Linked DNA regions of Homo sapiens: all the other regions are linked to region 6. Evidence: promoter capture Hi-C in 16 types of primary human blood cells and fetal thymus (Javierre and others, 2016). All regions are on one chromosome and are shown on one strand. Each heading gives the region's core, a stretch centred on a gene start or on the middle of the fragment in contact. The rest is flanking DNA. Distances are from core to core; before and after follow the strand shown. Region 1 overlaps SEC24B (SEC24 homolog B, COPII component). Region 2 holds the start of MCUB (mitochondrial calcium uniporter dominant negative subunit beta). Region 3 overlaps SEC24B (SEC24 homolog B, COPII component). Region 4 holds the start of PLA2G12A (phospholipase A2 group XIIA). Region 5 overlaps TBCK (TBC1 domain containing kinase). Region 6 holds the start of HADH (hydroxyacyl-CoA dehydrogenase). Region 7 holds the start of CASP6 (caspase 6).

Evidence for each region. Contacts are between HindIII fragments. The CHiCAGO score rates a contact against its expected background, and 5 or more counts as called.
Region 1: a fragment that was not itself captured here is called in contact with the fragment with the promoter of HADH in region 6 in 1 of 17 cell types (naive CD8 T cells); the score reaches 6.4 in naive CD8 T cells.
Region 2: the fragment with the promoter of MCUB here is called in contact with the fragment with the promoter of HADH in region 6 in 6 of 17 cell types (activated CD4 T cells, naive CD4 T cells, non-activated CD4 T cells and 3 more); the score reaches 11.4 in activated CD4 T cells.
Region 3: a fragment that was not itself captured here is called in contact with the fragment with the promoter of HADH in region 6 in 1 of 17 cell types (total B cells); the score reaches 6.4 in total B cells.
Region 4: a contact is called between a fragment that was not itself captured here and the fragment with the promoter of HADH in region 6, in 2 of 17 cell types (non-activated CD4 T cells and naive CD4 T cells). The highest score is 5.5, in non-activated CD4 T cells.
Region 5: a fragment that was not itself captured here is called in contact with the fragment with the promoter of HADH in region 6 in 1 of 17 cell types (total B cells); the score reaches 6.9 in total B cells.
Region 7: the fragment with the promoter of CASP6 here is called in contact with the fragment with the promoter of HADH in region 6 in 5 of 17 cell types (activated CD4 T cells, total CD4 T cells, fetal thymus and 2 more); the score reaches 10.8 in activated CD4 T cells.

What each region holds. Positions count from the first base shown.
Region 1 is chr4:109,511,273-109,515,118 of GRCh38, forward strand. SEC24B (SEC24 homolog B, COPII component) reads left to right here. Exons shown (of 24, transcript NM_006323.5): 9 at 685-811; 10 at 2,475-2,584. Among named protein-coding and RNA genes, the nearest start is that of MIR576, 24 kb to the left of the region's middle. The HindIII fragment of the contact is 4,764 bases long and covers 1-3,846 here.
Region 2 is chr4:109,558,815-109,562,636 of GRCh38, forward strand. MCUB (mitochondrial calcium uniporter dominant negative subunit beta) reads left to right here and starts at 1,432. Exons shown (of 8, transcript NM_017918.5): 1 at 1,432-1,622. The coding sequence starts at 1,524. RefSeq lists a silencer at 1,379-1,698 and an enhancer at 2,119-2,318. The HindIII fragment of the contact is 4,460 bases long and covers 770-3,822 here.
Region 3 is chr4:109,442,055-109,445,967 of GRCh38, forward strand. All of the region lies in intron 1 of SEC24B (SEC24 homolog B, COPII component), which reads left to right. Among named protein-coding and RNA genes, the nearest start is that of SEC24B-AS1, 10 kb to the left of the region's middle. The HindIII fragment of the contact is 4,493 bases long and covers 193-3,913 here.
Region 4 is chr4:109,729,747-109,733,707 of GRCh38, forward strand. PLA2G12A (phospholipase A2 group XIIA) reads right to left here and starts at 324. Exons shown (of 4, transcript NM_030821.5): 1 at 1-324. The coding sequence starts at 63. It also overlaps a transcript of CFI not described here. RefSeq lists a silencer at 113-452 and an enhancer at 442-1,318. The HindIII fragment of the contact is 3,342 bases long and covers 710-3,961 here.
Region 5 is chr4:106,304,457-106,308,193 of GRCh38, forward strand. The region is part of intron 2 of TBCK (TBC1 domain containing kinase); the gene reads right to left. Among named protein-coding and RNA genes, the nearest start is that of TBCK, 9.9 kb to the right of the region's middle. The HindIII fragment of the contact is 2,513 bases long and covers 796-3,308 here.
Region 6 is chr4:107,987,532-107,991,217 of GRCh38, forward strand. HADH (hydroxyacyl-CoA dehydrogenase) reads left to right here and starts at 2,358. Exons shown (of 8, transcript NM_005327.7): 1 at 2,358-2,533. The coding sequence starts at 2,402. RefSeq lists a silencer at 2,125-2,354. The HindIII fragment of the contact is 11,946 bases long and covers 1-3,686 here.
Region 7 is chr4:109,700,867-109,704,924 of GRCh38, forward strand. CASP6 (caspase 6) reads right to left here and starts at 2,579. Exons shown (of 7, transcript NM_001226.4): 1 at 2,490-2,579. The coding sequence starts at 2,529. RefSeq lists enhancers at 1,181-1,240, 2,001-2,060, 2,951-3,000 and silencers at 2,241-2,350, 2,501-2,790. The HindIII fragment of the contact is 4,197 bases long and covers 41-4,058 here.

The DNA of each region.
Region 1 (3,846 bases), core at 805-3,304, 1.5 Mb after region 6:
TATATTTCCTGATTTTTTTTTACAACAGATATGTGGTTACTTGCATAATAATAATCATATATGTGAAAAAATTAAATACAAAGATCAAAATGTTCATGTGCAGATAGAAAAAAACAGAATGATATACTAAAATGATAGCAGGTTAATTCAGAGACATAGAATAATATGTGATCTCTTAATCTTTTTTCATATTTTCTAAAGTTTCTACTTGAATATAAAATTCATTTCCCAAACTAAGCATAGAGATGTAATTTTTTTTAAAGGCACGTTGTGTTTGACTGCTTCTGGCCTCAGCTCCTGTCAGAAGTTGCTGTGGCAGTCTAATGAGCAGTGCCTAATAGTCTAGTACCACGTGCAGTCAACAAAGACAAAGGTATTTGTATATGGTATGTTTCTCTCTCACTGTTATTTCTAAAGTTAAACTGATAAGATCTCACTTACATTATTTTCTTGGCCAATGTTTGTTATGACTTTATTTTAGTGTTATGATTTGTGACAAGAGGGAGAAAACTTGATGGCTACATGTGTTGCTCAACATGTCCCTGGATTTTATTAATATGCTTCCATATAAAACCACATAAAAACAATTAAGGTTTATGTTCTGTATTTGGAGCAGATCTGTGTACGTTCTGTTTTTCCTTGGGGTGCCTTTTTCTGCTACAGCTTCTTTATTTTATTTCCTAGCAATTACCAGTGATAACATCAAATACCATTGTGAGGTGCCGATCCTGTCGAACGTATATTAACCCCTTTGTATCCTTCATTGATCAACGTAGATGGAAATGCAATTTGTGCTATAGAGTAAACGATGGTGAGTTTTAGATTCTTAATTGTGTTTTAATCCTATTTTCAGGTTTTTTTTTTTGAGATTTTTGTCATCTCCTGGTTTCTCTCTTCATTGCTTTAAAAAGAATTTTCATGCCATTTTTAGTAGAGGGAATATAGGCTAAGGCTAGGACTAGGGATTCTTCATTTTGGCTGACCAAGGGGATAATTGACAATGAGGAGAGTAACAGTGAGGACAAAGTAAGAAAAATAGAAACAGTGACACTCATGCAGGTGAGCTTATGCAGACTAGTTATGCTTGTCCCTGACAGTAAGATTGTCTTACATTTGTATATTTGGTTCATTCAACTCAGGTAGAACTTTGCCAGTGTATCTGGATGCATGCATGTATATATGTCTGTCTCTTGTTCCCTTTATTCATTTCTTCGGGTTCCCCTACTAGAGTTGCTTTCAAATTTATGTTTCTCTGTCTGATTTTTTTCCATGTCATTTGATATAATAAATAGGATACAAGTCTAAGAAGGAAGGTTACTTGCATCCTGGTTTTCTCACCTGATTTCAGAACATAAGTTTTTTTATCCTTCTGATCTATTTTTTTTTTTTAATTTTTTTTTTGAGACAGGGTCTCGCTCTGTCACCCAGGCTGGAGTGCAGTTGCACAATATGGCTCACTGCAATCTCTGCTTTCCAGGTTCAAGCTATAAGTTTTTCTCATGCCTCAGCCTCCCAAGTAGCTGAGACTACAGGCTTGCACCACCACACCTGGCTAATTTTTGTATTTTTGGTAGAAATGGGGTCTCGCTATGTTGGCCAGGCTAATCCTGAACTCCTGGGCTCAAATGATCCATCCACCTCAGCCTCCCAACCCAAGAGCTGGGATTACAGACATGAGCCACTGCACCTAAGCCTGATCTTTTTTTTTTTTTTTTTTTTGGAGATGGAGTCTCACTCTGTCACCCAGGTTGGAGTGCAGTGGTGCGATCTCAGCTCACTGCAACCTCCACCTCCCGGGTTCAAGCAATTCTTCTGCCTCAGCCTCCCGAGTAGCTGGGACTACAGGTGTCTGCCACCATGTCTGGCTAATTTTTGTATTTTTAGTAGAGATGGGGTTTTACCATATTGGCCAGGCTGGTCTCGAACTCCTGACCTCGTGATCTTCCCCGCCTCAGCCTCCCAAAATGCTGGGATTATAGGTGTGAGCCACTGCGCCTGGCCCCCTGATTATTATTTTTTTTTTTTTTCGGAGACAGAGTCTCACTCTGTCGCCTAGGCTGGAGTGCAGTGGTGTAATCTCAGCTCACTGCAACCTCTGCCTCCCAGGTTCAAGCAATTCTCCTGCCTCAGCCTCCTGAGTAGCTGGGATTACAGGCGCACACCACTATGCCTGGCTAATTTTTGTTTTTTTAGTAGAGACGAGGTTTCACCATGTTGGTCAGGCTGTTCTCAAACTCCTGACCTCGTGATCCGCCCGCCGCGGCCGCCCAAAGTGCTGGGATTGCAGGCGTGAGCCACCGCCCTGATCTATTTTTTAAGGAGGGCTTAAGGGATTGATTTTTACCATTAAATGTTCGCAGAACTGTTGCTAAACCTCGTGTAAATATTGATAATAGATATTTATTTTTAGGTGTGTATATATGTGTTTAGTTACAAATTGTGTCTCTAAATTTGTACTGGGACCTCTTATCTAGTTCCTGAAGAATTTATGTATAACCCCCTTACCCGATCTTATGGAGAGCCTCATAAACGACCAGAAGTTCAGAATTCAACTGTGGAGTTCATTGCTTCTTCAGATTACATGGTAACTATTCAGTGTTAAGATTTGTTATGGAACACAATTACATTGGTCATTTGTAATTTTCTGTTAAGTGAACTCTTATCGAGATTTTGAAGTTGTTTATACTCATAATTTTTAAAAACAAATTAATGCTGGAAGTTTATATTTAACAAAGAGAAAATCTTTCTAAAGGTTATTCGATCTCCTAGAAGGCTTTCTATGAATAAGAAATGTTAGTTCTGTCTTATGATGGGCACTAGCATCTATGACTTGTTGCCATTTTGATTTCCTTGCATGGAATGGATATAGATACCCTTTTACCATTTAACATTTAAGACTCTCAAAACAGAGAAATGCACATTTTTGCCCAAAACTTAAGTTTTTTCACCAAGATACCAAGATAAGTGGATATGGACTTCTAATTTTTTCTTCTGTTGCAATTAGAAAATTCTGTCTCTTCTTTAATTATATGAACTGTAAGATCTCATTCTTCTTTTCACTTCAAAAACGAATTACTGGCCCTAAGGTTTGCTCATCTTCGTTATCATATCTTCTCTTTTTAACATATTTATAAAAACTGTATTGGCTGGGTGTGGTGGCTCACGTCTGTAATCCCAGCACTTGCGGAGGCTGAGGTGGGTGGATCACCTGAGGTCAAGAATTTAAGACCAGCCTGGCCAACATGGTGAAACCCTGTCTCTACTTAAAATACAAAAATTAGCTGGGCGTGGTGGTGCACGCCTGTAATCCCAGCTGCTAGGGAGGCTGAGGCCGAGAATTGCTTGAACGTGGGAGGGGGAGGTTGCAGTGAGCCAAGATTGTGCCATGGCACACCAGCCTGGGCAACAGGGGAAGACTCCGTCTCAAAAACAAACAAACAAACTCAAAAAACTATATCTTCTGTAGCTACAACTCTAATCCTTGTTGTCCGCAAAACTTAAACTGCTGCTAGTGAAAAGGAGTAAGCGATGTGCATTAAATTTTTGGCGCCTGGCTCATCTTTATTTTTGTAATTTTTGTGTTCTTTTGTGTCTAATTTGGCATATGCCCACCTAACTACCATTTTCATGTTTGTTTCTGTATTAACTGTAATAAACTTTATCTTGATCACTTTTACTCTCAAGCCCTACCTTCTTTATGATTTATTATTTTCCCACTCCATATTGGGTCCTTAGGAATCTTAATCTAATTGAAGTGGTAAAGCAAGAAATAATCTTTTAAGTTTTGCCATATGATTCATATGGCCCTTGGTTAGCACATTTTTATTTATTTATTTATTTATTTTT
Region 2 (3,822 bases), core at 182-2,681, 1.6 Mb after region 6:
GTTTTAGTTGTAGTTTCCAATTTCTAAAAATGTTCAGGTAATTTTTTTACACCTTTCAGAACCTAGCTCATGAGTGTTGAATCAATGCTTTTTCATGTCAATTCTTTGTATAGGCATTCTTTTCAGTTGTATTAAACAAGAACCCTTCACAACAAAAAAACAAAAATACACGCTTCTTTCACTTGGAGCACTAGCTAATAGGAGGAAAAGATTCAGGTAAGGTAATTTACCTTCCCATATGAACTTAAAGTTTCATGTGTCACTCTCCATCTGGGGCAACTGTATTTTGAAAGACATGCTAGTTAACACAGGTGAATCAGCCTTTAATAGTGATAAAGTTTTTACTATAGTAGAAACTTGTGATTCTTTCCCTTTTCAATAAGGAAAGGAGATTACCGCCAGGAGTGATTTGCCACTTATTGCAGGTTTGCCAATTTTGATTCATTAACTGAACCCTCTTGCAGATTCAGGAGATAAAAATGCGGAGTGCCCAGTTAAATTTGAATTCAGATAAACACCAAATAATTTAGTATATCCCAGATATTTCATTTTTAAAATAATAAATGTGACCCATGCAATATTTGGGACATACTTCACTATTTGTATCTAAAATTCAAGTTTAACTGGGCATCCTATATTTTATCTAACAACCCTACTGTAATTGGTTTAGGTTGCTCTTTAATGCCTTTGGTTTGCTTTCAAAAATAAGTAGTCTCAAAACAAAGCATCCGATTTCCCAGTAGTTAGAAGAACTCAATACCGGTTCCGAAGCTTCTTCAATTAAAAACGTGCTTCAAAAGAGAAGCCAATTCTGTGGGAGATACTTTCCCAAAAAACTCGGGTTTGGGCCCCTATACCGTGAACTACAAACCTCCGCAGGGGTAGGCCCGGGCTGCCCGCCTCACACCGCACTCGCCAGCGAGCAGGGGCCCGGCACCGCAGCCCGGGGCAGAGGCCTTGGAGGTTGTGGAGGTGGGAGAGGCCTCGGCCGACCCGCTTCAATCCGTCTTCTCCAAGCTCGGTGGGGAAAACAAACTTCCTGAGCGGCCCTGCCCCCTCCAGATGCCGGACGCTGTTTTCGTCTCATCCCCGTCTGGGTTGGATGGCGAAGACGGCGCTCAGAGCACGCAGCACCGGGAATTAACAGCGAGTTTTGAAATCTAGAGCTCGCAAGGTGTGCGTCGCCTGCTGCTGTTCATTCCAGAGGGTCTTCTGCTGGAGAAGGAGGGGGCCCTCGACCTCGGGCTCCCGCTCTCGGGCTCCCGCTCTCTCGCTCTCTTTTTTTTTTTTTTTTTTGGTCGGAGGAAAGAAAACAGCCCTGCGCCCGGATGCGTAGAGAGCCGACAAGTGGAAACAGGGACACACCCTCCCGTGAGCCCGCCCAAGCTGGAGCCGCGGCGCGCTGAGCGAGCAGGCGGGGCGGGAGCGCCCACAGCTCGGAGCCACCAGGCGCTGACGAGGAGCCCGGCTGAGGGAGGATGCGCCGCTGACGCCTGCGGGAGCCGCGCGCCTGGGGCGGGAGGATGCTCCAGAGGGGCCTCTGGCCGTGGCGCACGCGGCTGCTGCCGACCCCTGGCACCTGGCGCCCAGCGCGCCCGTGGCCGCTGCCGCCTCCGCCCCAGGTAAGAGCGGGTGCCGGGCTGTGGGGGTTCGGGGTAGGCTGGTGCAAAGTTTGCGTTGGACAACTTTGGCGGGAGCAAAAGCCGAGCGGCCGAGCAGTCAACTGCGTTTTGCTGGCTGCCGGGCTCCGCGCGCCGGGCGGTCCCGACAGGTGGTGGCCGGGCGGCCGACGTGGGTCACGGAGGCCTGGGCTGAGGTCAAGACTCCGGGCCCGGGGAAGGTGAAGCCAGAGCGCTGCGGCTGGGGGTGCCTCACCCGGGCCGAGATAGGGTGCGGGGACCACCAGACTTCGGCCTGGGAGCAGCAGAATAACCTGGGAGGCAGTTTCTGGGCTGCAGCTCTCGGTCAGGAGCAAGTTTCCAAAGCCGCTGCGCCGCGGGGCCGGTTCCCTCTTGGTGATCAGTGCCCGAGCCCCTAAGGAGCCCGGAAACGATGAACGGGGCAGTGACCGTCCCGGGTGTGGACGGTCGCAGGAGAGTGAAATTTCCATCCTGAAATCTGCGAGCACCTCCCTTTCCCAGAAGGAAGAAAAACTCGCGTTTTGTTCAGACACCCGAGAGACGGGTGAATCATGAGTGTGCTGGTGAGTAACAGTTGGCCTGACACCGTTGTATTGTGGTCTGTGGAGAACCGTGGCTTGGAGGAGTAGAGAGTGGATGTGCACCAAAAAAGACTAGAAGAAGGGGAAAGCGCTGAGTTTAAGGAGGATTGCGATGGAGCCTGACAGGAGCCCGGGAGTGCAAACTCTGACCCAGATGAGGAAAGACAGCCAAAGCCTTCAGGGTGTGTGTGGTTGGGGAGGGAGCTGTTTCTGAGTTTTCGTTTGTTCCTCCCCCACACTGTTAAGATTACTTTCAGATTGTTAAAGGCTTAAAAGCCAAAAAGTAAGCAGTGTGATTCTCTTGTCACTTTCACTTCCTGTTTATTTTGTTCTTTTTTTTCCTTCCCCCCCTTTTCCTCCAGCTGTCTGAGGGCTTCAGTTTCAATTGATGCAGGGAATATTTAAGTGCATTTTTTTTTCCTTTTCATTGAGCTTGTGACCAAAGGATTAAGTGCATTCAGAAAATCAATTCCAGGAATGTTTGAAAGAGAATGAGGAAGGCCATGTTGTTACTAAATGTAAGAACAGGGGCAAACTCCTTAAAATGTAAAATGGTAGACTTATAAAGTCATTGGGGAGATGGGCTTTTTATACTTTTAAAGGTTGTACTTTTACTGTAAGTGTTGCATTGTGTAGTCAAAGAGATACCAAACATTAAAACAACCCAATACGAGGAACCCCTTTCACATGCCATTTTAAACACAGATTATTGTTTTTTGTTGTTGTTTTTGGAGACGGAGTCTTGCTCTGTTACCCAGGCTGGAGTGCAGTTGTGCGATCTCGGCTCACTGCAACTTCCGCCTCCTGGGTTCAAGCGATTCTCCTACCTCAGCCTCCCCAGAAAATAGGATGACCGGCGCGCGCCACCGCACCCGGCTAATTTTTGTATTTTTAGTAGAGACGGGGTTTCACCATGTTGGCCAGACTGGCTGGTCTCGAACTCCTGACGTTGTGATCCGCCCGTCTCAGCCCCGCAAAGTGCTGGGATTACAGGGGTGAGCCACCGCGACCAGCCCCAAGTGTTTTCTATTAAGTCCATTTAACACGTTGAGTAGCATTTTTGTGGATCCCGGGACTGGCTGCCCTTTCTCAAATTATCACCTGCAAATCCTTTTCTCCATATTTCCCATCTGATGCTGTCTAGGGTGGTGCCATTGCATACCTCAGCAGGAATGTGGATACCCTTTTAAAAGAAAATGGTACCATCGGGCTTATTAGGCCTAATAACAGGGAAACAGTAGTTAGGAATCATCGTAAGAAGCGTTATGTTTGAATGTTTCTAATTTGCAAATTTTTGTTTTAAGCCAACTGTCCAGCTATAAAGACAATTTTCAGAACTTGAGAAGTGGAAATGCTGTTCTTTATATACAGCTTTTACATTTTACCATGAGTAAACCGATAAAAATATTCTGGCTCTTGAGGAGTTTTAGCTAGGACTACTAAACCATTTTCTGCTAATCAAATTACCTGGCTATCGGGACATTTTTCATTCTAAGATATCACTCTTTTGTGGCTTTCCCACTTGTTATGAAATATCCTGTGGGTAAAGGCAAGTATTATTTCTATTTATTTTTTTTCCCAGAAACATTCAGACCCCTAGA
Region 3 (3,913 bases), core at 1,189-3,688, 1.5 Mb after region 6:
AATTGCCTATTGCCTTAGGGGTGTGTGGGTGTGCAAGCATGCACATTTTTTATGCCCATTAAAAATCTGTATTTTGGCATTGTTAGTGATACCTTATTGGCAGGGAGAGTATATTAAAATATTCAGTAATCAGTACTGTGTATACTGACCACTAAATGGATACCATCCTTCATACCAGAGCAGGATCCTATAAGCTTTCAGCTGTGCCAGGCATTACTCCTTCAGCTGCGGATTATGAGAAGGTTTGGGCTAGCATGGTGGGGTAAAGCAGGGGAATAGGACCATGGCTATGACTCATTACCAACTGATTCAGAGCTATTTTAACATTTTAACAAAGATAATTGTTAAAATGAATACCTGGGTGCATACTGACTGAATATTGGCCTATTTCTTTGTAATTGAGTGATGAATGAATTCAGTGATTACATTCTTCGATCTGATTCTACCTCAAAGTTAGTATGAATTTATCTTAGTAGGATAAAGGAACTTGTACTTTGCTGACCTTGATGTTTGTGTTCAGATAATGGAAACTGAAATCTGACTTTGATCTGACTGAAAAAAAAAGTTGGAATTCAATTCAGGAAAATATTAATGAAACAACTATTTTTAATATTAAAATGTGTCTCAGGGAGGGGGAATGATCATGCTATTATGGAAATCTCAGGAGTAGTCAAATTAGAGATGTGGTTTTTGTTTTCTCTCTTCATTTTTTTCTTTTTAAACAATAATTGTAGTATGGTGGAAATCATGACTGTTACAATCTTATTCAGGTAACTTGCTTTATTTTTGTGTTTTCCTGTATGTTTATATTACTCATTTATCAATTTTGCACATTTTTACTAGGTTTGGTAACCTTTTTATGTCAAATGTTTTTTTCCCTATAAAATGGCTGTATTGTAATATTAGAATAATCCAATGTTGATGCTTTATTTTCCTTGAAGTTTCTCCAACTTTATATTTATGGTAATATCTCTTAAGTGAGCTCTCAGTACCAGTTAGTCCTGTGGTATTTCCCTGCTCCATTCCCAGTGTCACATGCTCCCCTTTTCCCTCAAATTCTCAGTATCCTGTCTCTCTGCCTCCCTTTCCAATGGTGACCTTACTTATTTTACTAAGAAATTGAAAGCAATCTGACAATCTGAAGATAAAGTATTAATCTTCTGCCACCAAATCTGTCAGTCTTCCTGCATATTATTCTTGTGTTATCTGAGACAAATTCAGATTATTTGGGTACAGAATTCTGTTCCCTCTCTTTTAAGAACTTTGTCCCTCCGATTATCTCATTTACCATCAATTTTGATCTTAAACACCTGAACCTTATTTTATGCAATGCATATGTAATCCTAACAGTTATATATAACTTTTATTTTAGAGACGAGATCTCACTGTGTTGCCTGGGATGGTCTCAAACTCCTAGGCTCAAGTGACCCTCCAACCTCTGCCTCCCAGAGTGCTGGGATTACAGGCATGAACCACCATGCCTGGCCTATAAATTTAATTTACAATTCCTAGCAAATATTTATGTAGCTCCTCTTTACATAACATTTTGTGCTAGATACTCTGGGCATACAAATGTGAATGTTCTCTGCACTCCAGGAGTTCTGTACCCCTCAGTAAAAGAGGAGAGGACTGTCAGCACTGAACATGTGTTTCCTTCATAAGGCCTGTGAGAAGGGTGCCCAGAGTTTTGAAGAGGAAACAATTCTTTTTGGTTAAAGTAATAGGGAATCTTAAGGGAGGAAGTTAGAACTTCAGCTATATCTAAAATGATGGACACATTTTGAATTGTCAGGTAAAAATGCATGAATCAAAGGTAAGGAATTTAAAAAACGTACTCTGAGCAGTGCAGGGGTACAAGGGAGAGAGAGTAATGAAAGAATGGTTTGGGCCCGGTGTGGTGGCTCATGCCTGTAATCCCAGCACTTTGGGAGGCTGAGGTGGGTGGATCACCTGAGGTCAGGAGTTCGAGACCAGCCTGGCCAACGTGGTAAAAACCCATCTCTACTAAAAATACAAAACTAGCTGGGTGTAGTGGCGAGTGCATGTAATCCCAGCTATTTGGGAGGCTGTGGCTGGAGAATTGTTGGAACCCGGGAGGTGGAGGTTGCAGTGAACCGTGATCATGCCATCGCCTGGGCAACAAGAGCTAAACTCCATCTCAAAAAAAAAAAAAAAAAAGAATAGTTTTTACAATTATGTTGGGGCTGCTAATGGAAGTTCCTAGAAATTGTCCTAAGAAGTTTAGACTTCATTTGGATCAAAGAAGAGCCATTAAAGATTGTGTGGTAAGGAATGTTAAAAAGTACTCTGGTGGTGTTAGTAATGAATTAGAGGGAAGTGAAAGTAGAATAAAGGGAAGTCAGGTAGAGAATTTTTCAAACCAAATCGTATTTCATATGCCCTAAAGAGATCCTGTGATTTTTTTTTTTTTTTTTTTTTGGTACAGGGACTAGACTTGCATGAAATATTTGTTTTATAAATTTTAATTTTCATGTTAGGTTTTCTTAAAGCAAGAGAATCAGTTTTCCTTTGGTGAGAATCTGGTGTCTGAAAGGAGGTTATGCTACTGAGACAGATATGTCCTGGGGGTAGATCTTGTGATAATTTAGTCCTGCTAAGGAGGGCATACATGCTTATAGAAAATCATAGGCTGTATCTTGCTGGCACATGATATATCAGTCAGGCTGACCAGCTGAGCAGCTCCATTGAAAATATTATAGACCATTTGTTAAAAATATTTTATTTCTTCATTCAGATTGGTACCAGTGAGTAGATAATGTGTCAGAATCATCTGTTTCCCTCTTTTATTTGACATAGTTCACTTGAAGCTAAGAATATAAAATTCTTTCAGAGATTATATAAAAACTGAATTTTTTTGTTTTGTTTGTTTTTGTTTTGACACAGGGTCTCACTCTGTCACCCAAGCTGGAGCGATCACTGCTCACTGCAACCTCGATCTCCTGGGGTCAGGTGATCCTCCCACCTCAGCCTCTTGAGTAGCTGGGACTACAGGTGTGCGCCACTACACCTATCTAATTTTATGTAATTTTTGTAGAGATGGAGTTTCACTCTGTTGTCCAGGCTGGTCTTGAACTCCTGGACTCAAGCAGTCTGCTGCCTCAGCCTCCCAAAGTGCTGGGATTACAAGCACGTCTGGCCATTTTTTTAGTTTTTTCTTTCTTTCTTTGTTTTTTTTTTTTTTTTTTTGAGACGGAGTCTTGTTCTGTCGCCCAGACTGGAGTGCAGTGGTGCAATCTCGGCTCACTGCAAGCTCCGCCTCCCAGCTTCACACCATTCTCCTGCCTCAGCCTCCCAAGCAGCTGGGACAACAGGCGCCCGCCACCACGCCCAGCTAATTTTTTTTTTTTTTTTTTGGATTTTTAGTAGAGATGGTGTTTCACTGTGTTAGCCAGGATGGTCTCGATCTGACCTCGTGATCCGCCCGTCTCAGCCTCCCAAAGTGCTGGGATTACAGGCGTGAGCCACGGCACCCAGCCTGTTATTTTTATTATTTTATTTTATTTATTTTTTTGAGACAGGGTCTCACTCTGTCACCCAGGCTGGAGTGCAGTGGTGCAATCTTGGCTCACTGCGGCCTCAATCTCCTGGGCTGAAGCAAGCCTAGCACCTCAGCCTCCCAAGTTACTGGGACTACAGGCACAAACCACCACACCTGCGTAATTTTTTATTTCATGTTTGTAGAGATGAAGTCTTACTATGTTGCCTGGGCTGGTCTCAAACTCCTGGACTCAAGCAATCCCCCTGCCTCAGCCTCCCAAAGTGCTGGGATCACAGGTGTGAGCCACCGCACCCAGCCTGTTTTAGTTTTTCAGTGATTATTTGATGCTTATGTAAGGCATTGTATTGGGCAATTTGGGGAGTGCAATAATCAAATTAATTTATTCTAAGATGC
Region 4 (3,961 bases), core at 1,131-3,630, 1.7 Mb after region 6:
CCTGACAACAGCGGCCATGAGGAGGAGCAGGAGGGTGAGCGCGGGGCGCGAGAGCAGGGCCATGCGCGCAGCGCCGGGCTCTACGGGTCCCCGAGCCGCGGCGCGGGGCGCGTCCCCACAGAGTCCCCAGGACGCGCTAGGCAGCGGCGCGGGCCCCGGACTTGGCAGCAGCCAGCTCCATATCCACGCCTCCTTCCCGGCTGGCCCTCAGGATCTCGCTGTCTTTACGTGAACCGCCTCGGGCAGGCAGCGCCGTCGCGGGGACGCGCCCGCTCACCTGGACCAGCGCGCCCGCTCACCTGGGCCAGCAACCGTCCCCTGTGCGCCTGCGCCGGAGCACGGCGCGTCAGCGGCGCACGGGAGGGGCGGGACGCGCAGGGGTGGGGCGGGGCGGGGGCGGGGTTGGGGGGGGCGGGGAACCGGGGGAGGGGCGCGCGGGGCGGGAAACGGGGGCGGGGCCTCCATGCCCACGTGGTCTCCGCGGCACCCTCCCAAGACCCTTGGTCCTGGTTCACAAGAGAACCTTAAAAAGTACCCAGGCCTGAGCCCCTTTTCTAGGGAGCCTGATTACGTTGTCCCAGGTGGCAGTGGGCGTCGGTATTTTTTAAGAAAGCTCTCCGGGCTGTTAACCGTGAAGCAAGAGTTGCAGAGCTAACCCCGGTGGCCTAACCTGACCAGTCGGGGCTCAGCACAGTAGCCCCGAGAGACAAGCTTTTCTGGGTGTGGACAACATCGGAGAAAATAACCCCTGTGCCCCCTCGCAGAGAGCGCTGCGAGAGGTCCAGCTGAGTTTCCGGCTTGAAGACGTGGTTCCATTGGCAATGTGGGCAGAGTCCGGCTGTCAGCTCGCAGAGCAGGGCTTTTCCTCCTTGCGTCCTCTCCCGGTCCTCCAGATCTGCTGTGGCCGCGGTTGGGGGAGCGGGATCTGGAAGATGCCAACCCATGCCTTGGCGGTGCCTGACTCTAATCAGGACGAGCTAAATGCTAGTTTAGACTTTCCGGAAAAAGAAAATGGGCCAACATAAAAATCATAAAATTCTCCCCTGGTAAGGAAGAAACAGTAGTGTAAACTTAAATACAGTAAAAAGTAAAATAAATCTTAAGGAAGTCATTGTTTTTCTACTCAAGGGATTTTGTAACTTGATAGTTACAGTGACGTTTGTTTCTCTGTACCTACCACCCTGCCCCCAGCATTGTGCGGGATCCATAAATAACTATTGCAGTAGTACTTTGTATCAGTTGTAAATATCTGGTTATCTTAGTATCACAGCAGTTTCCAAGAATTTTACAGTAAGATCCAGAGCAATGTTGAAAGTATTGGGCAGACCAAGCGCGGTGGTTTACGCCTGTAATCCCAGCACCTTGGGAGGCCTGGAACTCCTGAGGTCAGAAGTTCGAGACCAGCCTGGCTGACATGGTGAAACCCCATCTCTACCAAAAATACAGAAAATTAGCTGGGCGTGGTGGCGGGCACCTGTAATCCCAGCTACTCGGGAGGCGGAGGCAGGAGAATCACTTGAACCCAGGAGGTGGATGGATGTTGCAGTGAGCTGAGATTGCACCACTGCACTCCAGCTTGGGGCACAGAGCGAGACTCTAAAAAAAAAAGAAAGTGAGTAAGTATTGGGCATAGGTGTGTCCTTTCTATAAGAATTACCAATAAGTTCTAGGTTTGGCCTTTTGTGTTTGTTACAAACTAAATGAGCTTATAATAAACGTTCAGTGCACAGTTCATAAAAATTACATCCCTCTTTATTGAGTGCTTACTATGTGCCAGGCACTTCATGAATATGATCGCTCACATTCAGAACACTACTTTACAAGGATGCAGACTTTGGGCAAGTTAGAAACATAGAAAGGCATTCCTCCCTACAAACAGGGTAGCCCAACAAACGGTGTAGCTCCTGGCTGGAGACTGCCTGCACTTCACTCAGCCCCTCAACCAGGAGTCTTGGGCAGTGATTAATTCCTACCACAATGGAGAAGGGGGAAGAATGTTCCCTGGAAGGTATTATTATCTTCCTCTTTTACAATAAAAGAGTCGAGGTGAGAAGTCATGTGACAGTATCTACTCCAAACCAAGGCCTCTGTCTTCACAAAATACCACAGATATTTTTATTTTTTAATTTTTAGACAACACATTTCAATACATTTTAAAAAGGGAACTTAGAATCATTGTCTTAGCTTTCTGGAACATTGGTTTCTCAGCTCCAAAGTATGAAAGTTGGACTAGATTACCTCTGAGATACCACCACCTGAATCCTTAAACCAGGCTTGGTTCTTACAACTCCCTAGTCCAGGGACAAGACTTTCAAAAGAAAGGATAGAATGTAATAAAATAACCTAGTTCCAGCCCTCAGTTATGACCCAAAGCCTCTCCTTTCCCCCACTTTCTCTATTTATTTACTTCTTTGTGATCTCATCTAATTTCTTACACCTTAACTACAGCCTATACTCTGAGGAATCAGACGTAGTTTTCTTTGTCTGATCTCTCCTTAGGGATTAAATTCTCAAATGCCAGTTCTTCTGGCTTGATGCAGCTGTTCTCTTTCTCTCAAGCAAATCTTTCCACTGTCTTCCCCATGAGAATCACCACCATTTTTGTAGAAAACAAGACTCTAAGTTTTATTTTCACATTCTTTTCACATTTAATCATTATATATTTGTTGTTCTGCTGCAGTAATTACAAGGTTTACGTTTTCCTCTTAATTGATGCTGTTAAATACCAGGGATCTGCACTGACCACAGACTATCTGTATAATTTGTAGGGCTCAGTGCAAAATAAAAATACAGAGCCCCTTGCTCAAAAATTAAGAATTTCAAGGTGATGGCCGGGTGCGGTGGCTCACGCCTGTAATCCCAGCACTTTGGGAGGCTGAGATGGGCAGATCACGAGGTCAGGAGATCGAGACCATCCTGGCTAACACGGTGAAACCCTGTCTCTACTAAAAATACAAAAAGTTAGCTGGGCATGGTGGCGGGCACCTGTAGTCCCAGCTACTCGGGAGGCTGAGGCAGGTGAATGGCGTGAACCCGGGAGGCAGAGCTTGCAATGAGCCAAGATCGTGCCACTGCACTCCAGCCGAGGCCACAGAGCAAGACTCTGTCTCAAAAAAAAAAAAAAAAGAATTTCAAGGTGATAACAGCAGAGCATTAAAATAAGTACAGAGCCCTTTTGACTGTGGGGCCTTGTGCCACTACACAGGATGCATGCTCTGATTTACCATATCATATAAATTTTTTTTTTTTGAGTCTGGCTCTGTTGCCCAGGCTGGAGTACAGTGGCACAATCTCAGCTCACTGCAACCTCCGCCTCCCAGGTTCAAGCTATTTTCCTGCCTCAGCCTCCCGAGTAGCTGGGATTACAGGTGCCCGCCACCACACCTGACTAATTTTTTGTATTTTTAGTAGCAATGGGGTTTCACCAAGTTGGCCAGGCTGGTCTCGAACTCCTGACCTCAAGTCATTCCCCTGCCTTGGCCTCCCAAAGTGCTGGGATTACAACATGAGCCACTGTGCCCAGCTCATCTCACGTAACTTCTAGATGACCCACTTCCATCTTTTCTTCCCAAATTTTGGCATAAACTGTTTGAAAAGAGCCTTCTTTACAGGACACTTTCATCTAACCAGCAAAACCTGTTATTTTCATGACAGACATCATTAGTTGCAAATCCACAGCTGTGTTCCAGGTCTTTCCTGCTAGAGAGTGGCTAGCTTGTCTATATATACTTTGTGGTGGGCAGAAGCTGAAGATAGGAAGTCAGTTATGATACAGTAATCTAGGTATGGCATAAGTATGGCTTGGTCCAGGAAAGGAGCAGTGGAGGTGTGAAAAGTGGTCATATTCTAGATGTAACTTGATGGTAGAGCAGAAGGGATTTGCTGATGGACTGAATATGAGAGAAAAAGAGGAATCAAGGATGGCATTGAAATTTTGGCCTAAGCCACAGGATAGAGAGAG
Region 5 (3,737 bases), core at 802-3,301, 1.7 Mb before region 6:
TTAAATTGATATTTTTTCCACGTTTAAGTATCTAGAAATTAATTTCTTAATAAGCTGCCTCATTATAAAAATAATTTGAAGCAGTTAGATTTACTTCTTTGCCCTGGCCTATAAGAAGTATACAACCAAATTTATAGTCCAACTAAAAAAATATTAATATTACTAACCTCAAATCTTATTCTGTTTCCTTTCTCCCTGAAGAAAATCAGAATATGCCATCTCAAAATATCCCACTTTGACATAAGGATTTTGAGTGAAGGCAATTAGCTCTCTTCTCTCTCCATTTCTGTCTAAGCAGAACATAAATCTCCCTCTGTAAAGATGAAAGGAATTTCCATTTGATAAATTCCATTTGGAAATTATCCTCTCCTACACTAGGAAGAGGAAAATGACTCTTATCTACATAACAAACTTACTAAGTAATTCTTATTTACCATGCATTTCTGAGTCACTTTCTCAAATCCCAAACCCCTCTTCCTTTGTCTACCCTCTTCTCTATACTTTATTTCCCTTTGTGAAGATGGTATATAAGCCTCAATTCTAACTACCTCCATGAGTTGCATTTCTTTGTGAAATCTGTGCCTATAGATTAAATCTGGGTTTGTTTGTTTTTTTCTCCTGTTAACCAGCCTTTTATCAGTTTGATTCCTGGGACCTACCATTAAGCATCAGAGAGTAGAGAAAGTTTTTTTTCCTTTTTTACATCTTCACCTTGATTATTTTTCTTTCATGTACTATATATAAAATACTGTATGAATGTCTGCATCTTGTCTCAAATTATTTTTGAAAAAAGTAAGCTTGTAATTAATCAAGAGACATAAATGTCTTTTTAAATTAAGAATAATTAATAATGATATTAAGACTTTGTTTCCTAGAAATATGTCAACAATAAAAGGCCAACATCTTTTGAAAATCCATTAATTTTTGAGACTACCAGCATCATCAAAATGAATGAATGTAAGCAAATAAAACATAACAGACAGAAGAGCCATTGCTCTGTGGTCTAAAGTCCTTTATCCCACCAAAACCTTTTATATATGAGTTTGATTAATATATATATATTTTTTATTATTTCTTATCTTTAGAGACAGGGTCTAGCTCTGTCACCCAGGCTGGAGTGCAGTGGCATGACTGTCAGAGGCGTGTGAACCAGAGCAACTCCATCTTGAATAGGGGCTGGGTAAAGTGAGGCTGAGACCTACTGGGCTGCATTCCTAAGAGGTTAAGGCATTCTTAGTCACAGGATGAGATAGGAGGTCAGCACAAGATACAGGTCATAAAGACCTTGCTGATAAAACAGGATGCAGTGAAGAAGCTAGCTAAAACCCATCAAAACCAAAATGGCCACTAGAATGACCTCTGGTTGTCCTCACTGCTACACTCCTACCAGTTTACAAATTCCAAGGCAACGTCAGGAAGTGACCTTATACGGTCTGAAAAGGGGACGCATGAATAATCCACTCATTGTTTAGCATATAATCAAAAAATAACCATAAAAATGGACAACCAGCAGCCCTTGGGGCTACTCTGGCTATGGAGTAGCCTTTCTTTTATTCCTTCACTTTCCTAACAAACTTGTTTTCACTTTACTCTATGGACTTGCCCTGAATTCCTTGCCGCACAAGATCCAAGAACCTTCTCTTGGGGGTCTGGATTGGGACCCTTTCCTGTAACATGATCATAACTCACTGCAGCCCCAAACTCCTTGTCACAAATGATCCTCCTGCCTCAGCCTCCTGAATAGCTAGGACTACAGGAACAAGACACCATGCCTGGCTAATTTTTTTTTTTTTTTTTTTTTTTTTTTTGGTAGAGACAGAATCTTATTACATTGCCCAAGCTGGTCTCAAACTCCTGGCCTCAAGCAATCTTCCTGCCTCAGCATGCCAAAGTGCTAGGATTATAGGCATGGGCCACCATGCTTGGCCTTGATATTCTTCAACGCAAAATTAACATTCTCTTCTTTGTACTTCCATAGCATAGCATAGCACATTGTACATCACCTATTATAACAACTATTACTGTATTATTTAATATTATCATGGTTGTATTTTTCTCTACTGTTTCTGAAGCTGACTTGGGACCTGGGGTAATGAGTTACTCATTTTTGTATATTTGGCATCTAGCAGAAGGAGGGCCATAGTATCAGTCAAGGGTTACCAAGGTATTATAACCCCAGTGTACATGTTTGTCAAAGCAGTGGACAAGAAAGACAGGTTCCTAAATAAATCTTCAACTCATCAGCACCTTTATTACTTTTGCTTCAAAGCTAGGTTTCTATCAGCTCTGACTTCCCAATTTGTTCCCTACAGAGAGAGACCCTTAAGGCCTCAACATGGCACCACCCATGCTCTTGCTTGAGGGATTAAGCCAAACATGACAGGCATTTACTAATATTTGCAGAATCAATCAATCAAAGTCAACCTTGAACAGTAAAAGAAGTCTCAATAAAATAATGTATACTTTAACATGTCTGTGTGTATATACCTATATGTCAATATGAAAAAACAAATTTTTTTTTATCATCTGCTAGACAATTAACTTTTTTTACCACTCTCTTTCCCAAATCTCTCACGAAGCCTCCTGACAACATCTAACTATTTACAGCACTAGGTATGTGGTAGAGCTCAACAGTATTTATGGTACGGAATAGCTCTGATTAGAATTCTGTCAATATTTGCATTATTATACACTTACAGCAACATGTACAATCTTTCAAAAAATAATAAAATGTATTAGCAGTCCATTTTTCCTTAATTTCCTTCGTGTGCCCTTGGATGAATTAATTGTGAACCTTGACTTAATTGCTCTGTGGTTTAATTTTCTTATCTGTAAAATGACAGGACTAGTTCCTTTCACACAGTAATGTTACAAGGATTAAGTTAATTAAAATATGTAATTAAAATATGTAAAACACTAAGAATATTGCCTTATATAAACGCTCAATAAATTTTAACGATTAATAATTATCATTACAAAAAAAATTTCTACTCAGTCTATAAAACACAAATATTCTCAGAGTAAATATTTTAAGAGAAATAAACCAGGGAACTTGAAAGTACAGTTTAGTCTATTTTCAGCAAAACAGTAAAGAAAACATTGTTTGCATTTATCAGGGTTTTTAATATTAGGTTGAAACACATAAAATTGCCACTTTTATAGGGAAAAAGTTGAATATCACCAACTACATAGGGTTTACTTTCAGATTTTTTTACGTCTACAAATTATTTTATGTTAGAAAAATTAAATACATTTCACTGAAATGCATTTAAAATATTTTTAAGAAATGCAACCTTACCCTGCAATTAAGCTTCCAAAAATAATTCTGAAATAATTAAAAATATTGCCACCATAAGAATCTTTAAGTGGAGAATGAAAGAACCTGATTACACTACTAAAAACGCAGTAAACATCTTCCTCAAACACTGACTTTTTAACCAATAGGGTTCAACTTTTCTAATTCAGTTCTCTAAATGGGCTGCTATATAAAAAGACTAATGGAGTTTAAAAAAAAAAATCTACTGACTCCCTTTTCATTTGAAGACAGTTGCCAAAATCATTACTTTCAATCATAAAATATATTGTTAGATAATTCTTCTAAAGTTCCTAACATTAGAACTTCATTTCCTTCATATAGATAAAGAAATATGTTTAAGAATAGACGGTTTCCCTGAAAAAGAAAATTAAAAATCCTGATTCTCAGATCTGAGAAACATTAATCATTCAAATATAGTTGT
Region 6 (3,686 bases), core at 1,108-3,607:
GGGGAAAGGAACACATGATACATTTATGGGAGCAGCTAATGGTTGGTTTGTAGGCATCCTGAGTAGTGAAAGGCAAGCTAGGCTATTCCAAACTTTTCTAATCTTTATGCTTCTTTAGTGGCTCTCCAGGTTATTATAACTTGTGTTACCAGGCTAATTACAAAAATGGATACCTCTTTAAATCAGGCCATAAGGCTGAATCAGGTCATTCAGTGAACTATGGTCCTTGTAAAAAGTAAAGTAGAGGTTCCTTTTCAAAGACTTTCCTCCTCATCTGATTAGGAATAAATAGTAACCTCTCTTAGAAGCAAAATTTATTCAAAGACCTGTTAACATTCTTAAATATCTGCTAGCTGTAATAAAGAAATCAATGTACTTTATGTTCTTAGCTCCCACAATTTAGCCTAAATATTTGCCCTGGCATGCTTATACTGGTCCAAGTGGGCATTAGGTCATAGCCTGTTCCTCTTCCTTATTTAGAGGTGTTTTTCCCTTCTCAGCATTCCACAAGTTACTTCCTCCTTCCTTTGTTCTCCTCTGCCTTTGCCTCTTTTAAGAATTTCTAAGTTGCTAGCCAATCAAGACAAATACAGAATGTGAAGTCCCGTTCTAGCCAATGGAAACCAGTCACAACAGTAAGGTGGACGGGTCAGGTTATAAATGACCCTGCCTCCTTTGTTCGGTGTACTCTTGTGGCAAAACTGCTGGCGAGTGTACTCTTTCCGCAGAAAGTAAAAATGGCCTTGCTAAAGAAATTAATTTTATGTTCAAGTGCTATTTCTTTACGGCACCAAGAAATAAGCATTTCTAGCAGTCCTTAACCGCCATAATGCCCTAAATTAGACCATGACCAATTGGACTCAAATACTTTGAACTATCTTTATTGCCTGAACTTTGAATTGTTTAATTTTGATCAGTTCAGTTTGTGGAGACTCCTGTTAAGGTGTGTACCTCAGTTTATTGCTATACTCCTTCTCGTGGCCATAATAGTCTCCCTGATGTGTTGTTGTCCCCTCGAGAGTCTTCAATGTCTCTATGCAGCCATCCTTTGTACACCAAATGGTGTTATTACAGTTAGAATAACAACATGAAGAAAGTATAATCACTCAACTAATTTGACATTGTGACTTCCATACTGAGACAAAACAAGGTTCTGGTCAATCTCGTAAAACTGAGAGGCTGACCCAAAGGAGGAAACTGTTATTAAATTAAATCTGGCCTAAAGTTGCCTCCCTACCTAGCAAAGCATAATCAAACCTAATATGTAAATAAACTGCAATGTAATTTGAGAGTACGTTCTTCTAACAAGTGGCCAAGTCTTGGCCAATCACCGCAGCGGAGCTTTTAGCCCATTACAGGCTGCAAAAAATATTGTCTATAAACGCGGCTTGCCCACTGTTAGGGGCTGGAGCTCTCTGAACCTTTACTGGCTCAGGATACTACATGATTCATGCTTTCTTTGCTCAGATAAACTCTGCTAAACTTGTTTGAAGTTTTTTTGTTAACAATATTTAAACATAAAGCAAATAAATTAATAAGAATCCTATATCACTAAGTTACAGTAATTAGAAAGTATTCACCTGAGTGAGAAGATTGGCCAAGCTGCTATCCAGTCTTCCATTATTTGACAAGACATTTCTTTCCTATGCTTTCTAATAGTATTCGTTATTCCAGAAAGGTTGCTCTATGACCTTAAACCGTCCACATGTTCACTGCACTGATAGACGTCCAACGTCAAGATGGGTAACTAAAGGTCAACTCTCTCTTTACCTTCCCTGAGCCTGATTTTTGCATTGTAACTCATGGTCACTAGACATTTGTTTTGGGTGTTCGCAGTCTACATTTATTTCCCTTTTAGGGGAAACAATCACTGTCCACGGGATTAAAATAATCCCGAGTTGATTATTTGGTGACATCAACCAACGGTGCACATTTTGGGTCCATTACCAACACAGCCAAGCAGCACATATTTCTTCAGAGCCTAGATATGCACATGTCATCAAAGGATAGCATTTTACAGAGTCAACACCACTCACTTCATAGAACAAGGGGCCAGTGGCTTTTCAGAAGAAGGGTCTGTTCTCGGCCCCACACCAGAACGCCAGCCGCCAGGTCCCGCTGCTCAGCAGGTCTCAAGCCCGCGCTCACTCGGGCTCCGGCTGCTGACAGCTGCGAGCCCGCGCGTGTATACCCGCTCAACGCTGGGACGTTACAGCCAGGGCCAATGGGCAGAGCGGGACTCGAGGCCCCGCCCCCGCCTTGTGGCGTCACGGGGACGCCGGGGGCGCGCGGGCTGCAGGGCCGCGTAGGTCCCCGCCCCCAGAGTCTGGCTTTCCGCGGCTGCCCGCCTCGCGCGTCTTCCCTGCCCGGGTCTCCTCGCTGTCGCCGCCGCTGCCACACCATGGCCTTCGTCACCAGGCAGTTCATGCGTTCCGTGTCCTCCTCGTCCACCGCCTCGGCCTCGGCCAAGAAGATAATCGTCAAGCACGTGACGGTCATCGGCGGCGGGCTGATGGGCGCCGGCATTGCCCAGGTGAGCGGCCCTCCCTGCAGCGTGCCCACGCGCTTGGCCGCCCACCCTGAGGTGGAAGCTCTGGCGCGACCGGCCGCGAGGGGCCTGCACCCGCCCGACACCAGGGAGTTTTCACCCCGCGCCTCCCGGGTGTAGTTGAAATATCTCGCGTCTGGGCCTGTGAGGGCCCAAGTCTCACTCCCCTCAAAATTCAGGGTTCTGGGCCGATCCTCAGCTTCCTCGTTTGGAAAATTCTGGCTGCCCCCAGGGCCCGCTGAAGGTTCCATGGAGAGTGGCGGTGAATGCATTTTGGAAGCGGGCCGTGCAAGAGAAGAAAGAATTGTATGTGCACAAGGTTCAGGCATAACGCGTTTGTTCCTGCTCGGCTCAAACGGGAGTTTGCTGCCAAAGACATGAACTGCGATCAGTTTTAATTCTATCAGTTATTTTTGATTTTTATTCTGTAATTGTGCAGTCTTTGTCAAAGTAGTTTTCTCTCCTAAACGGCCTCCCGGCTCTCCCCGGTCTTTCCTTCGCTTGCTAGGTTGTAAAGAATAGTAGTAGTCATGACTTTTGTAGCACTTTGTAAAGTCACCTAATGGAAGATTGCTGAGGTCCTGGTTTTGACCTTTGAAATAGTGCCGTCTGTGCAGAGTTCTGAGCTTGCGATTTTGGCGCTGCAGCGGAATAAGTCTCTCTCTTTTTTTTTTTTTTTTTTTTTTTGAGTCGGAGTCTCTTTGACCCAGGCTGGAGTGGAGTGCAATGGCGCGATCTCGGTTCACTGCAACCTCCGCCTCCCGGGTTCAAGCGATTCTCCTGCCTCAGCCTCCCGAGTAGCTGGGATTACAGGCGCCCCGCCCGGCTAATTTTATATTTTTAGTAGAGACAGGGTTTCACCTTGTGGGTCAGGCTGATCTCGAACTCCTGACCAAAGGTGATCCGCCCGCCTGGCCTCCCGAAGTGCTGGGATTACAGGCGTTAGCCACTGCACCCAGCCGGAACAAGTCTTTTATCCATTGTACATCTTCAGGGCTTTTCCATTGTTCTGCTGAGCTGTGGTTCAGGCTCAGTTGTGCGAGTGATTGATTACCTGGCTACTGTAATGCTTGTACTTTTTTTTTTTAAAAATTATTCCATTTCAGCTCACATTGGAGAACCATGGTTTTCGTATCCT
Region 7 (4,058 bases), core at 1,329-3,828, 1.7 Mb after region 6:
CACATCATGACCACCTTGAGCTGTGTATCCCAAGAAGACAAGCTTTCCAGAAGGGGGCACTTAAGTATCATTATGCCGCATTAATATTTATTTTTTATTACTATCTTTTTGGGATGGAGTCTTGCTCTGTTGCCTAGGCTGGAGTGCAGTGGCGTGGTCTCGGCTCACCACAACCTCCGCCTCCGGGTTCAAGCGATTCTCCCGCCTCAGCCTCCTGAGTAGCTGGGATTACAGGCATGCGCCACCACACCCAGCTACTTTTTTTTTGTATTTTCAGTAGAGACAGGGTTTTGCTATGTTGTCCTGGCTGGTCTTGAACTCCTGGCCTCAAGTGATCCACCTGCCTCAGCCTCCTGGAAGTGCTGGGATTACAAGCATGAGCCACCACGCCCGGCCTGCGTTAATATTTAAAAACCTGGATAAAGTAAGAAATAGCTTTATTGATATGGAGAAAATAAATTTTAATGAAGGAGCTACCCTGTATAACAGATATAGAAATTCCTTTTCATCTGCAATCTACTTATCAAAAATGTGCCCTTCTTTAAACCTGATTCTTGACCTCTTTTCACTTTTTTTTTTTGAGACAGAGCCTCCCTCTGTCGCCCAGGCTGCAGTGCAGTGGCGCAATCTTGGCTCACTGCAAGTCCACCTCCAGGTTTCAAGCGATTCTCCTGCCTCAGTCTCCCCAGTAGCTGGGACTAGAGGCGCCCACCACTGTGTCTGGCCCTCTTTTCACTTCTCTTCCTTTGCAGGATAATGTAACTGCCACCTCCTTATTCCTTAAATCAGCTTAGGTTTTACAAAACTAATCATTCCTTTTTTCACCTCACTCTAATTTGATAGTCCCTCCAGATAATCCTGCCAGCTACCATTTGTTGATGGCCTGATGCCTTAGATACCTTATCTCACAGCTCCACAGCTCAGGAACAGGGACAGAGAAAGTGGGCCAGGCGTGCCAAGGTCGGCAAAGTGAAGCTGGGATTGAAAGCCAGCCCACCTACAGATTCCAAAGTCTCTGTAGGCCCATCCCCACGCAGCCCCTCCCACCCGAGACCGGCTACCTTTCTAAACTTTGTTCAACTTCCCAAACGACTTCGGTCATTCTACTGTCATCGTCTTCATTCACTGCACTCTCTATGAAAATCTACCCATCGGCTCCATCAACAATGTATTTAGTAACCCTATGTAGAGTAACCTCCATCAGGCCTAGAACATGCACTGGGGAGTGCGGTGGAGGAAGAAGAGGAAGGGAGCAGGTGAGTGAAGGAAAGCCCCGGCTTCCCGCCCCTAGAGACTGCAACTGGACCCTGCACTGTGCCTCCAGGACAAGGCTACCTATCTACCTCCTCTACGACCATGTGACTTTTACAGCTTGCCTCTGGAGCACCATTTCCTTTGTGCAGCAAAATATAAAGAGTTCTTAAACAAAGGCACTCTAACCAACTGCAGGCGTTTCGTTCTTTTTTTTTTTTTTTCTTCTTGATTCGAAGTCTCACTCTGTCGCCGAGGTTGGAGTGCAGTGGGGCGATCTCGGCTCACTGCAACCTCCACCTCCAGGGTTCAAACGATTCTCTTGTCTCAGCCTCCCCAGTAGCTTGCGCCCAGGCCTGGCTAATTTTTTTGTATTTTTAGTAGAGACGGGGTTTCACCGTGTTAGTTAGGCTGGTCGAGAACTCCCGACCTCTGGTGATCCGCCCGCCTCGGCCTCCCAAAGTGTTGGGATTACAAGGCGTGAGCCACCACGGCCGGCCAACTGCAGGCGTTTCGACCTTTTTGTTTGTTTCACTCTGGCCAGGCTTGAAGTTTCTAAACTTTACCAGTAATAAGTGACAGAACGTACGCTCTTAGCAGTTGATTACTTTGCAGAAAAAAGTTATTGTGGTTTTGGCTCAAACCGACAGACAGCAGCAGGTTTCCTGGATGAAGAAGAGAGATACCGGGGTGTGCTGGCCGCCAGGAACTGGCCGCCTCCAGCTGAAGCCCGGGAGGACCCAGGGTCTTGGCCCGGGCACCCCGCGGGCCTGTTATGTTTTCATTATGACTCGGCGGAACAACCCCTCCTTTTCACTTTTCGAAGTGAGCAAACAAAAGATCCAACCCCCAACATTTCAAACGGCCAGGTGTGGGGGAACGCCAGGCCCGCGTGGGGACAGCCTTTTAAGGTTTAAACAGCCGGGGCGCCCCGAAAGCGCTCATCGCCCCGGAGGACAAAGGCGGCAGGGGCACGCCCCGGCGCCGGCGTCGCTACTCGGGACCGCCAGGAGGCGGCAGCCAGGTCCCCGAGTGTTTCTTAGACTGAAGCGCGAAACCGTCCCCACCCGCCCTGAGCGCTTCAATCCAAGAGTGCAACTTCTCCAGGCCGCCCTGCAAAGCCGAAGGAACCCGCGGCCCCACTCCGGTCCGCGCGCCCGGTCCACTAACCCTCGTTTCCCCTCCAGCCGGAGCAAGACGCAGACCTGCTCGGTGCCCAGTCGACGCCCCCTGCCTACCTGCCGGGTGCCCCCTGCGGAGCCCCGAGGCCGAGCTCATTGCAGCCAAACGCGCAGCCAGACACCTTGCCCTCCTCTTCCTGAAGCCACAGGCTCCCGGGCCCGGCCCCGCCCTCGGCCCTTCCTCGGCGGCCCCGCCCCCTGCCCCCGAGCGTGGGGCCAGTTGGTTCTGATTGCGCGCCGCCCGGGCTCCCGTGGATCGGGCTGGTCCTTCCCAGAGTTAAAGCTCCTCCCAGTCGCTCCGGAGCCCGCGGGGACCAAGAGCGCGGGGGCAGGGAGAGGTACGCGGTCTTCGCCTCCAGGCCCGCTGGGACTAACCGTGCCCTGGGGACATGCCAGTTGCCACCCGGGGGGACACACAGACCGCCTAGCCCGAGGCAATTTCACATCACTTGTGTGAGCTCGGACTCATTTAATCCCAGCTGCCCCAAACATTTGCTATTCCTTACTTTGCTATGCCTGTACTTTCTAGAGGTACAGGCATAGATTGTTTTATACCGCTTAGCAGATACTGCCTGTATTTCAACATTGGCTCGCTTTGTGTCTCTGTGTCACATTTTGGTACTCTCGCAATATTTCAAAATTTTTCATTGTTATTATGTCTGCTGTTGTGATCTGTGATCAGTAATCTTTAATATTATTGCAATTGTTTTGGGGCACCATGAACCGCGCTCATAAAGGAAGGGGAAATTAATCCATAAGCCCTGTATGTGTTTGGACTGTTCCACCGAACTTTCCCTTCTCTCTCCCCCTCCTGGGGCCTCCCTATTCCTGGAAACACAATTTTGAAATTAGGCCAACTAATAATCCTACAAAGGCCTCTAAGTGTCCAAATGAAAGGAAGAGCCTGTCACTTTAAATCAAAAGCAAACATGATTAAGTTAGTGAGGAAGTAATGTTGGTAGGCAGAAAGCTAGGCTTCTTGCTCCAGTTAGCCAAGTTGTGAGTGCAAAGGAGAAAAGCCAAGTCATGAATGCAAAGGAAAAAATTTTGAAGGAAATTAAAAATGCTACTCCAGTAAACACACAAAAGACAATAAAGCTAAACAGCCTTATTGCTGATATGGAGAAAGTTCTAGTTGGTCTGGATAGAAGATAAAAACAGCCACAACATTCCCTTAAGCCAAAGCCTAATCCAGAGCAAGGCCCTAACTCTTCAATTCTATGGAGGCTGAGAGAGGTGAGGGAATTGCAAAAGAAAAGCTGGAAGCTAGCAGAGAGGATGGTTCCTGAGGTTTAAGGAAAGAAACTATCTTCATGACATAAAAGTGCAAGGTGAAGCAGCAGGTGCTAACGTAGAAGCTGCATCAGGTTATCCAGATCTAGCTAAAATCATTGATAAAGGCAGCTACACTAAACAACAATCTTTTGTTTTTGAGACAGTCTTGCTTTGTCACCAAGGCTGGAGTACAGTGGTGCGATCTTTTGCAACCTCTGCCTCCTGGGTTCAAACGATTCTTCTGCCTCAGCCTCCCAAGTAACTGGGATTACAGGATGTGCCACCATGTCCAGGTTAATTTTGTATTTTTAGTAGAGACAGAGTTTCACCATGTTTGGCCAGGCTGGTCTT